2 separate regions of the Homo sapiens genome follow, and region 1 is linked to region 2. The links are contacts of gene promoters, found by promoter capture Hi-C in blood cells and fetal thymus (Javierre and others, 2016). All regions are on one chromosome and are shown on one strand. The core of a region is centred on a gene start or on the middle of the fragment in contact, and the rest is flanking DNA. Distances in the headings are between cores, read along the strand shown. Region 1 overlaps APBB1IP (amyloid beta precursor protein binding family B member 1 interacting protein). Region 2 holds the start of MYO3A (myosin IIIA).

Region 1 (5,573 bases), core at 818-3,317, 620 kb after region 2:
CCTCAGCCTCCCGAGTAGCTGGGATTACAGGAACGCGCCACCACTCCCAGCTAATTTTTTTGTATTTTTTAGTAGTGATGGGGTTTCACCATGTTAGCCAGGCTGGTCTCGAACCCCTGACTTCAGGTGATTCGCCTACCTCGGCCTCTCAAAGTGCTGGGATTACAGGCATGAGCCACTGCGCCCGGCCAGTTTTGGGTCATATATTAACTAATCTATTTTGGGTCGATTTTTGTTTATGGTGAGAAATAGGGGTCAAGTTACACGCTTTGCATGTAGATATCCAGTTAACCCAACACTGTTTATTGAAGACACTATCTTTCCCTCAATGTGACTTTTTTGGTTTGTTTTTCTTCTTCTTTTTCTTTTGTGGGGGACACCTTTGTTGAAAATCAGTTGGCTCTAAATGCATTGATTTATTTCTGGACTCTCTATCTTGTTCCATTGGTCTATGTGTCTGTTTTTATGCCAATACCACACTGCTATAGATTTGTAGTATATTTTGAAATCAGTTTGTGACTCCTCCAGCTTTGTTCTTTTTGCTCAAGGTTGCTTTGGCTATTTGGAGTCTGTGTTTCCACATAAATTTGAGGATTGCTTTTTTCTATTTCTGTGTGAAGTATGACATTAAAATTTTTTTTTATTATTATACTTCAAGTTTTAGGGTACATGTGCACAACGTGCAGGTTAGTTACATATGTATACATGTGCCATGTTGGTGTGCTGCACCCATTAACTCGTCATTTAACATTAGGTATGTCTCCTAATGCTATCCCTCCCCCCTCCCCCGACCCCACAACAGGCCCCGGTGTGTGATGTTCCCCTTCCTGTGTCCATGTGTTCTCATTGTTCAAGGGATTGCTTTGAATCTGTAAATTACTTTTGGTAGCATGGACATTATAACAATATTAATTCTTCCAATTTATGAACACGGGATATCTTTCCATTTATATCCTCTTCACCTTCTTTTATCACTGTTTTATAGTTTTCGTCATAGAGCTCTTTCTCCTCCTTGGTTAAATTTATTTCTAGGTATTTTATTTTTGTGTAGGTATTGTAATGGGATTGCTTTCTTGATTTTCAGATAGTTGGCTACTGTTGAATAGAAATGCTACTAATTTTTGTATGCCGATTTTCTATCGTGAAACTTTACTGCATTTGTTTATTAGTTCTAACAGTTTTTTTGGTGGAGTCTTTGAGATTTTCTACATATGAGATCATGTTGTCTGCAAACAGAGACCATTTGACTTCCTCCTTTCCAATTTGGATGCCTTTTCTTTCTTTCTCTTGCCTAGTTGGTCTCGCTAAGAGTTCCAGTACTATGCAGAATAGTAGCAGTGAAAGTGGGCATCCTTATCTTGTTTGAGATCTTAGGGAAAAAGCTTCTAATTTTTTCCCATTCAGGGTGATGTTGGCTGTGGGTTTAACATATATAAACTTTATTACGTTGAAGTATGTTTCTTCTATACCTAATTTGTTGAGATGCTGAATTTTTGTCAAATGCTTTTTCTGCATCTGTTGAAATAAGCATTTGGTTTTTAATCTTTATTCTGTTAATGTGATGTGTCACATTTATTGATTTGTATATGCTAAACTATCCTTGTATTGCTGGGATGAATCCCACTTGATCATGATGAATGGTCTTTTAAATATGCTATTTAATTTGGATTGCTAGTATTTTTTTGAGGACTTTTGTATCTATGTTCATCAGGGATGTTGGCCTGAAGGTTTTCTTTTTTGTTGTGTCCATGTTTGGTTTTGGAATTGGGATAATGTAGGCCTCATAGAATGAGTTTGGAAGAGTTTCCTCCTTTTCAATTTTCTGAAATAGTTTGTGAAGAATTAGTCTTTATATGTTTCTAGAACTCAGCAGTGAAGCCATCAGGTCCTGGGCTTTTCTTTGATAAGAGACTTTTTATTACAGCTTCAATTTCATTACTCATTGTTGGTCTTTTTAGGTTTTCTGTTTCTTCCTGTTTCAATCATGGTAGGTTATATGCATCTAGGATTTTAGTCATGTTTTCCTAGGTTTTCCATTTTGCTAGTGTGTAATTATTTATAGTAGTTTTTATGATCTTTTGTATTTCTGTAGTATCAGTTGTAATGTCTTTCTTTTCATCTTTCATTTTATTTCTTTCAGTCATCTTTCTTTTTTTCTTAGACTAGCTAAAGGTTTCTCAATTTTATTTTTTCAAAAAACTTACTCTTTGTTTTATTAATATTTGTGTTTTAGCCTCTTTTAGCCTTAATATTTCTTTTTCAAATGAATGAAATTAATCTCTATTTCATTTATTTGTGCTCTGATCTTTATTATTTCTTTTCTCCTACTAATTTGGGGTTTAGTTTGTTCTTATTTTTTCTAGTTCCTTGAGATGCATCATTAGATTGTTTATTTGAGAGCTTTCTTTGGCTGAAAAAGTCTTTATCTCCTTCATTTCTGAAGAATAGCTTTTCTGGGTACAGTATTCTTGGTTTTTTTTTTAATCTTTTTTTTAATCTTTCATCACTCTGAATATATTGTCCCACTCTTTCTTGGCCTGCAAGGTTTCTGCTAAGTCTGCTGCCAGGCATATTAGAATTCCCTTATGTGTTATTTGCTTTTTTTTTCTTGCTGCTTTCAGGTGCATCGCTTTGTCTTTGACCTTTGAGAATTTGATTATGATATATATTGGAGTATTCTTATTTAGGTTGAATCTGATTGGTGACCTTTGACCTTCCTGTGCCTGGATATTTGTATCTTTCTTCTGATTTGGAAGCTTTTCTATTATTATTTATTTGAATAAGCTTTCTATCCCTTTTCATTCTTTACTCTCTCTTTAAAGTTAGTTACATGTAGATTTGCTCTTTTGATGATGTCCCATGGGTCATGTAATTTTTTCTTTATTCCTTTTCATTTTTTTCCTTTTTTCTCCTTTGACTATGTATTTTCAAATAGCCTGCCTTCAAGCTGACTGATTATTCTGCTTGATCAATTCTGCAGTTGATGTCCTCTGTTTCATTTTTCATTTTGTTTGTTATACTTTTCAGCTCTAGGATTTGTTTGTTTTTTTAATTATTTCTATTTATCTGATGAATGCTTCTGATAAATTTCTGAATTGCTTCTCTGTGTTTTCTTGAAGTTTGCTGAGTTTTGTTATAACAGCTATTTTTGAATTCTTTGTCTGCCAGATAGCTGGCACCTCTTTTTGTCCATTTAGTGAGACCATGTTTTCTAGGCTATTCTTACTCCTTGTAGACATTGGGCTCTGTCTTTGCATTGTTGAGTTAGGTATTTATTTCAGTCTTCCCTGTCTGGATTTGTTTATGACCGTTCTTTTTTAGTGGGCGTATGCAGAAATTGTGAGCAGATTGACTTTTGTATGTCATTTCAGCACTAGAGGGCCTCCTAAGTCCAGGTTAGACCCGAATCCTACACTAACTCTGCCGAGGATACACTGTTCAAACTGCATGGGCCCTGGGAGACCCACAGAGGGCCCACTGGATGGTGTGGGAAAGCCGGTCAGGCTCTCAGGTCCAGAGGTTCTGTGGACCATGCCTCCCACAGCACAGCATAAACAGCCCATCTGGTGTATCATCACATCTGGCAGGGAAGGTGAGCCACTGCCAAATTTGTCCACCTGGCTGCTGCTAGCCCCACTCCCTCTCTTTGTCCCTTGCTGGCCTCACGTGTTTCAGCCCCGTTGGTACTTGGTACTCACAGTGCTCTCCATAGGCCCATGCAGAAGCAAGCCTCCCACAGAAGGACCCAGTGTGGTAAGAAACCTGAGTGTGAGTCCGGGGGGACTTTCCATGTGTGGGTACCGCAGTGGCTCAGGGGAGGGGCAACATAGTCAGGGGAAACCATCCCCTTACCGTCCAACTGCGGTTTCACTCATTTTTGCAGTCCAGCGGGGCTTCCCAGTCTCACTCACGGTCAGTTTCCTTAGCCCTCATAAAGGCACTTTTGTGCGTGGATAGAAGCCGTTCCTTCATGCATTCTTTCTCATTCCATTCTGGGGCTAGATGCAATGGGGCAGAAGTAAATATCTTCCAGGAGAAGTTATGTTTCTATGGAGGCCCGTTAGGAAGTAGTGGAATGTCATGGAAGGAGCGCTGGAATTCCGCCCCGTCGCTCACCTGCTTCCTACCCCTTACTCAGCTATATTTTTCTTTACAGTATTTTTCACAATGAAAAATTATATTACTTTAGTGTTTTGTATTTTTATTGGCTTTCTCCCATAGTAGAATATAAATGTCATGAGAGCAAGGACTTTTTCTATTGTGTTCACTATTGTGTTCCAGAGCTTGGAGTGATATTTGACACATTGTAAATGCTCAATACATATCAGATGAATGGATAGATTAATGGATGGGTGGATGGACAGATGGGTGGGTGGATGGATGGATGGATGGATGGATGGATGGATGGATGGAATACAGATCAAAGCCCCTTGTACCATTGTGTCCTTCAAAACATGGTTCAGGGCAGGCACAGTGGCTCATGCCTGTAATCCCAGCACTTTGGGAGGCCAAGGCAGAAGGATCGCTTGAGCCCAGGAGCTCGAGACCAGCCTGAGCAACATATCAAGACCCCATCTCTACAGAAAAACTTTTTAAATCAGCAGGGTGTGGTAGCATGCACCTATAGTTCCCACTACTCAGAAGTCTGAGGCAGGAGGATCCCTTGAGCCCACATTCAAGGTTGCAGTGAGTTATGATCACACTACTGCACTCCAGCCGGGGCAACAGAGTGAGACTCTGTCTCTAAAGAAATGCTTAATTAGCTGGGCACTGTGGCCCATGTGTGTAATCCCAGCATTTTCGGAGGTCAAGGCAGGAGGATCACTTGACCTTAGGAGTTCGAGACCAGCCTGGGCAACATAGGGAGACCCCCGTCTCTACAAAATATTTAAAAATCAGCCTGGTGTGGTGGTGCACACCTGTAGTCCCAGCTACTCAGGAGGCTGAGGCAGAAGGATTGCTTGAGGCCAGGAGTTTCAGGGTGCCGTGAGCCACAGTCACACTGTTGCACTGTGGCCTGGGCAACAGAGCAAGACCTACCTCTAAAAAAGAAAGGAATGAAAGAAAGAAAGAAGGAAAGAAAAAAAAAAGGAAGGATAAGAAAGAAAACGGAGAACAGGATTGAATCGTCCCAGTTTACTTCCTGTTTACTTCTAAATTTATCCCACGCAGTAACTCTCCTACCTCCTGACTCTCCATCTCAGAGGAAGAAGGCTCCTATCTCCAACGTGGCCTCTGGAACCACATCGTCAGCCACTCCCTTTGGCTTCAGCATCTTCAAACCCTCTGCAGACAATTCTTCTCTTTTCCTTGGGCCACAGACATTTTCAAATATTCCTTGGTTTGGGGGCTCTAACTCACTCCCCTCAGTGGTATCTGCCCCACCTCTTCAAGCAGCACCTTTGACCTCTGTCTTCTCTTTAACTCAGACTTCCTGAGAAAGTGATGATGCCCTCCATGTCCTCAACTTTTTTTTTCTTTTTTTGAGATGGAGTCTCGCTCTGTCGCCCAGGCTGGAGTGCAGTGGCGCGATCTCAGCTCACTGCAACCTCCGCCTCCCAGGTTCAAGCAAT
Region 2 (5,373 bases), core at 2,824-5,323:
GAGGTGGTAACTTTTGGAATTTAGTGTGATAAAGAGGTGATTACTAAGATGGTGGCCTTTGAGAAATCATTGATTCCTCCCTTCAGTTTCCTTATTAGTAAATAGAGACACCTACCTTACAGGTATTTCCATTAAAGAGGGACATTATGCATATAAAATGAAATAATGCACTAAAAGAAAGTTTGCACTTTTAAAAGAGAGAACTTTTAGACCTAAAGGCGATTTACTCTGTTTTCTTGCCTGAGAGGGTCACCACCCAGGCATAATCATAAATGCATGGAGTCTTCCTACAAGGGGCTTGAGTAATATATTTGATTTGACTTATTATAAAGTGGAGAGGGCAAGGCAGTAGAAAAATTAGGAAACATCTGGAATACTCTAGGATGGCGAAGGCCTAAATAAGGCAATATCAGCAGAATAGAGAGATAAGGCTAAATTTGAGAACTAATTTGATTGGGCTGCAGTTCATGTACAAATATCACAAGGTAGGGTTTATGAAGCTCAGAAAGCAGGAATGAGCAATCTTTCTTCCCTTAATTGATCTCCCAGATCACTGGGTCACTTGTGCTGGGCTAACTGATGAGACGCCATTAGTCTACAAGGTGGAAGTTTGCTCCTGGCAAGTGCACTCATTTTTTTTTCTCTCTCTCTCTCTTTTTTTTTTTTTTTTTTGAGATGGAGTCTCGCTTTGTCATCCAGTGCAGAAGCGCGATCTTCGCTCACTGAGATTGCTCCACCTCCCCAGCCTCCTGAGTAGCTGGGATTACAGGCATGAGCCACCTTGCTCGGCCCAGTTCTGCTTTCTCTGAGTCTTTTTGCCAAGAAGTAGATGAGTCGGTTAAAACTGGAATGAGGCTGGACTGTGGCACGCACCCGTAGTCCCAGATACTCAGAAGGTTGAGATGAGAGGATCTCTTGCACCCAGGAGTTTGAGACCAGCCTGAGCAACATAAGGAAAAACAAAAACTTAAAAAAAAAAAAAAAGTTGATATTGCCAGGTGTAAGATGAACAGGACACCATGCTTCTTCCAAGGGCAGGCTGTGCTGTGAAATGTCAACAACAGTCCCCTTTTTTGAGTGACTACTTCTTTCTAACTCATTGGAAAATCTTGCTTCCTATGCTCATAGACTATCAGAAAATTTGATTTTTGAAATTATGTCAGTAAAAATGAAACCTCCCATAATTGCTTGTAGGATCTAACTCACTTTGACAACAGAGACATGGCCCCGATTTACAACTCAAGTACAGAGCTTCAGATAAGGAGTTTCCCAAGACAGCATTCCACATTTATCCAAGGAAACAGAACCCTTGGTCACAGCCCAAACCTCATGTTGACTCCCAGCTCTGCTTTGCTTTGAGCCTATCAAAACTCCACTTCATGGTTCCTCTAGTTTGCAGTATCTCTACTGTAACATTGAGTCAATGAACCTGACTTTGTGGGACTGCAGGTTTTGTCCTTGATGGTCTTAGGCTGGTTGGATTGGACACACTATTCTATTCCGTGTTAATGCCATTCTTTTCATTATTATAGCTTAATTACATGTTTCTTTTTTCATTGCCTTATCAAAAGGTTCTCAGGGCTGGAGGCAGTGGCTCACACCAGTAATCCCAGCACTTTGGGAGGCTGAGGTGGGTGGATCACAAGGTCAGGAGATCGAGACCATCCTGCCCAACATGGTGAAACCCTGTCTCTACTAAAAATACAAAAATTAGCTGGGCATGGTGGCGGTGCCTGTAGTCTCAGCTACTCGGGAGGCTGAGACAGGAGAATCACTTGAACCTGGGAGGCGGAGGTTGCAGTGAGCCGAGATCGTGTTACTGCACTCCAGACTGGCAACAGAGTGAGACTGACTCCGTCTCAAAGAAAAAAAAAAAAAAAAGTTCTCAATTTTTTTTGTCTTAGAACCTTCCTTTATTTACACTCTTAAAAAGTTTTGAGGACTCCAAAGAACTTTTATGTTATAGCAATTAAAACTGAGAAATTTTAAAAATATATTTCACTACTAAGCTCATTACATGTTAACATGAATAGCATATTTTTAAGTGAAAAATACCTGTATTTTCCAAAACCAAAAAAGTTTAATGGTAAGAATGGCATTATTTTATATTCTTGCACATTTCTTTAATGTCTGGCATAACAGAAGACGTTACCTGTTTCTGCATTCAATCTGTTGTGATATCACATATTATGGAGCCACTGGAAAACTTCATCATAAATTCATTTAAAAAATGGGAGAGAAAAAGGAGTGGAAAAAAGTCTTATTATTAAAGTAATTTTGGTCCTGTGAACCTCCCGAAATGGTTTCAGAGACCGCCCCCTGACCCCCAACAAATTTCCCCTAGACCACACTCTGAGAACCACTGGACTTAGCTCTTCTAGCTTCTGTAGTTTTCATATGAATTCTAGAATATATTTGTCTCTTAATTTGGGAGGTAGTAATTATGTGTTTAACATCTTGTCTTCTAACTTAGGATTCCAGTGTCTTTCCAATTATAAATAGTCTGTCAACAATCCTGCATTTTTAAATTTTTTCCCACTTTTCTCCTATATTTCTCATTTTTTATCATTCTTAGTTATTTCATGTTCTTTCATGCTTCTATTGTGAATGGGATCTATTTTTCTATTGTATTTTAATTGGGTGTTGTTTGTCTCTATTGAGATTGTGACTTTATTTTGCATGTGAGCACTCAGTTGCTCTAATTCTTAAAATCTCCCAGGTATGTCCAAATGGCCATAATTATGTTGAATAATATATTTGCTGTGATCTGTTTTTGATGAGATAACTTCTTGATTTGAAGCTGTTCATATATGTTAGGCTTTTGATTCAATATAATCCCTATTACAAGTCCACTATTCAATTTCTAATTTTTTTTTTTTTTTTTTTCGAGACGGAGTCTCGCTCTATCGCCCAGGCTGGAGTGCAGTGACGTGATCTCGGCTCCGTCACTGCAAACTCTGCCTTCTGGGTTCACGCCATTCACCTGCCTCAGCCTCCCAAGTAGCTGGGACTACAGGGGCCTGCCACCATGCCCGGCTAATTTTTTTGTATTTTTTAGTAGAGACGGGGTTTCACTGTGTTAGCCAGGATGGTCTCGATCTCCTGACCTTGTGATCCGGCCGCCTCGGCCTCCCAAAGTGCTGGGATTACAGGCGTGAGCCACCGCGCCCGGCCCAATTTCTAAATTTTAAAGCTACTTTAAGAGGAAGGGTCTTGAATATACTGAATGACCTTTTGAAACAGATTTTTAACATCACATTTTTTCCTTAAGATATGCATTGATTAGGATTAGATGACCTCTCTTTGGTCTCTTCTATAATTCTCATTTAGATAACATGAACGACAGACCCATTGAGATAATTAACAGAATCAAAGGATGTTTTGGTTGTAGTTCTCACCTGTTCAATGGATGAAGGTATAGCAATACCCAATATGTCCCTAGAGACTGTTCAAGAGAATCTGGCCATCAGGGTCCCCCCAGGTGAGCCCTGTGTGACAGGAGACCACAGAAGGTCTGGAAAGGATTGCAAAGGACCAAGTAGAGGGTTGGTGACTAACGGGCTGCCTCCCGAGGGTAGAAGTTCTTGCCTTTAACTTCAGCCCCAGCCCCAAACTCCTTAGCAGTCTGCAAAAGGGAACTGGACCCTGGGAGCGATCTCATTAGCCACTCACTATCCCTCTTGGACCTGAAACCCATTACATTTTCCGGGTCCGAGACCCTCGTAGTGTGGGGAATTTCCTGGGAGGAAGATACTACGCGGGGCCGGGAGCAGAATTTGCTCCAGGCACTGGGCCAGTCCATGAGGGCTCCAGGATCCAGGGGCCCCACTCCCTTCTCGCCGGGCTCCGGGCCAAGGAAGCGCGGCCGGAGTCCCGGGAAGCCCCTCGGCAGCCAGCCAAGGGCCCTGCGAGGATGTGGATGGCGCGGATGGCGCGGCCTCCACCTGCGGGCAGTGGAGAGAGCGGCGAGAGGAAGAATATTCCCCGCGAGCCGGGATAAGGGGCCCCTTCGGCTCGGTTGACCCAGGTCAGATCCTCCCGCCGACCTTCGGCCCGCCCTCTACAGGCGGCCCAGTTCTTCCCCTGCTCGGCTGCCCCTGCCCGCCCCTCGAGGGAGCGCCCGTAGCCAGCGCCCCCGTAAAGAAATAAGGAGGCGCCCGGCTTCCCGCCCAGGTACGTGTCGGGACAGCGCAGGGGACTGGCTTGGGGCGGCGGTGGGTAGCGGCGCCCGCGCGGCGCTGGAAACGGCCCCGCTTCCTTGGACCCCGGGGCTTGCAGGGCGGGCCCGGGGCTCTCTGAGCGCGAGGCTGCCGCGACCGCCCGCCCGCCCAGGTCAGATCCGGAGGACCTGTGTGTTTGTCGGGGCCTGGGGTGAGAGAGGGGACTCGAGGGGAGAAGTAGAGCGGGAAACCAAGAGGGGGAATGTGAGGCTTGAACGAGCTGGATGGGAGAGCTCGAGGGGAGGAGAGGGATGAACTTGAGGGGGAAACGGGGGCGGGGGTGAACTCGAGGGGGAGCCAGGAGGAGGGAACGGGAAGGGTGAACCTGAGGGGTGGACTTGAGGGAAGATCTTGTGGGTGAACCCGAGGAGGGAACGCGAGGGGATAGTGAGGGGGGATCTCGAGGAGGGAACGTGAGGAATGAACTTGAGGAGGGAACGGGAGGGGTGAACGTGAAGTGGAAACAGGAGGAGGGAACGGGAAGGGTGGCGTAAGGGGTGAAGGAAGATCTTTAGGGGTGAACTTGGGAAGGAAACGTAAGGGGAGGACCTCGAAGAGTAACGAGGGGCGAGAACTGAGGGGGCCCTGCAGGGAGACTGGAGGGAGGAGGCGCCGAGTCTGGCGGGTGTCGCCTCGGAGACCTGTGGCGCGCGCGGGCTTTGCGGCGCCGCCCACAGGTGGCGCTGGGTCGGCCCGTCCCTGAGGGAACTGCGTTCCGGGTGATTTCTCAGAACAAGCAGGTCGGTGGAGCTGGGCTCCCTGCAACCCCAAATGCATCCGTAAAGGAGTTTTAATTTTAAGGAGAAAGAGCAGACAAGAAAAGTATGATCATTATTGAGAAATAGAGAAACCTACCAGGAAAGGATGTCCTTTCAAGTCTGCTCACCAACAGCTCTGTTCTGTTCTCCAAGTAGTTGCTAACTCGCACCTTGCTACTATCCCCCTTCCAGAAAAAAAATTTTATTATTGTTAGAATGGAAATTGGCCATAAGCCTTGAAATGACTGTTGTAATGCCACTGAACCCTACACACTAAGCGTTTTTGAAAACTCAAAAGAATCTTCATTTCTGGTTGTTTCTAGTTTTCTTGGTGAATTAACTAATTGTACAGGTGCACTTAAACCTTCTTAAGCATTTTTATAATTCAGACGGAT

What was found. Contacts are between HindIII fragments. The CHiCAGO score rates a contact against its expected background, and 5 or more counts as called.
Region 1: a contact is called between a fragment that was not itself captured here and the fragment with the promoter of MYO3A in region 2, in 1 of 17 cell types (endothelial precursors). The highest score is 5.8, in endothelial precursors.

The regions. Positions count from the first base shown.
Region 1 is chr10:26,547,555-26,553,127 of GRCh38, forward strand. All of the region lies in intron 11 of APBB1IP (amyloid beta precursor protein binding family B member 1 interacting protein), which reads left to right. Among named protein-coding and RNA genes, the nearest start is that of LINC03028, 29 kb to the right of the region's middle. RefSeq lists an enhancer at 3,513-3,902. The HindIII fragment of the contact is 1,374 bases long and covers 1,381-2,754 here.
Region 2 is chr10:25,930,156-25,935,528 of GRCh38, forward strand. It overlaps MYO3A (myosin IIIA), which reads left to right and starts at 4,074. Exons shown (of 35, transcript NM_017433.5): 1 at 4,074-4,173. LOC101929073 (a long non-coding RNA gene) reads right to left here and starts at 3,555. Exons shown (of 4, transcript NR_120650.1): 1 at 3,399-3,555; 2 at 2,153-2,206. The HindIII fragment of the contact is 8,280 bases long and covers 1-5,373 here.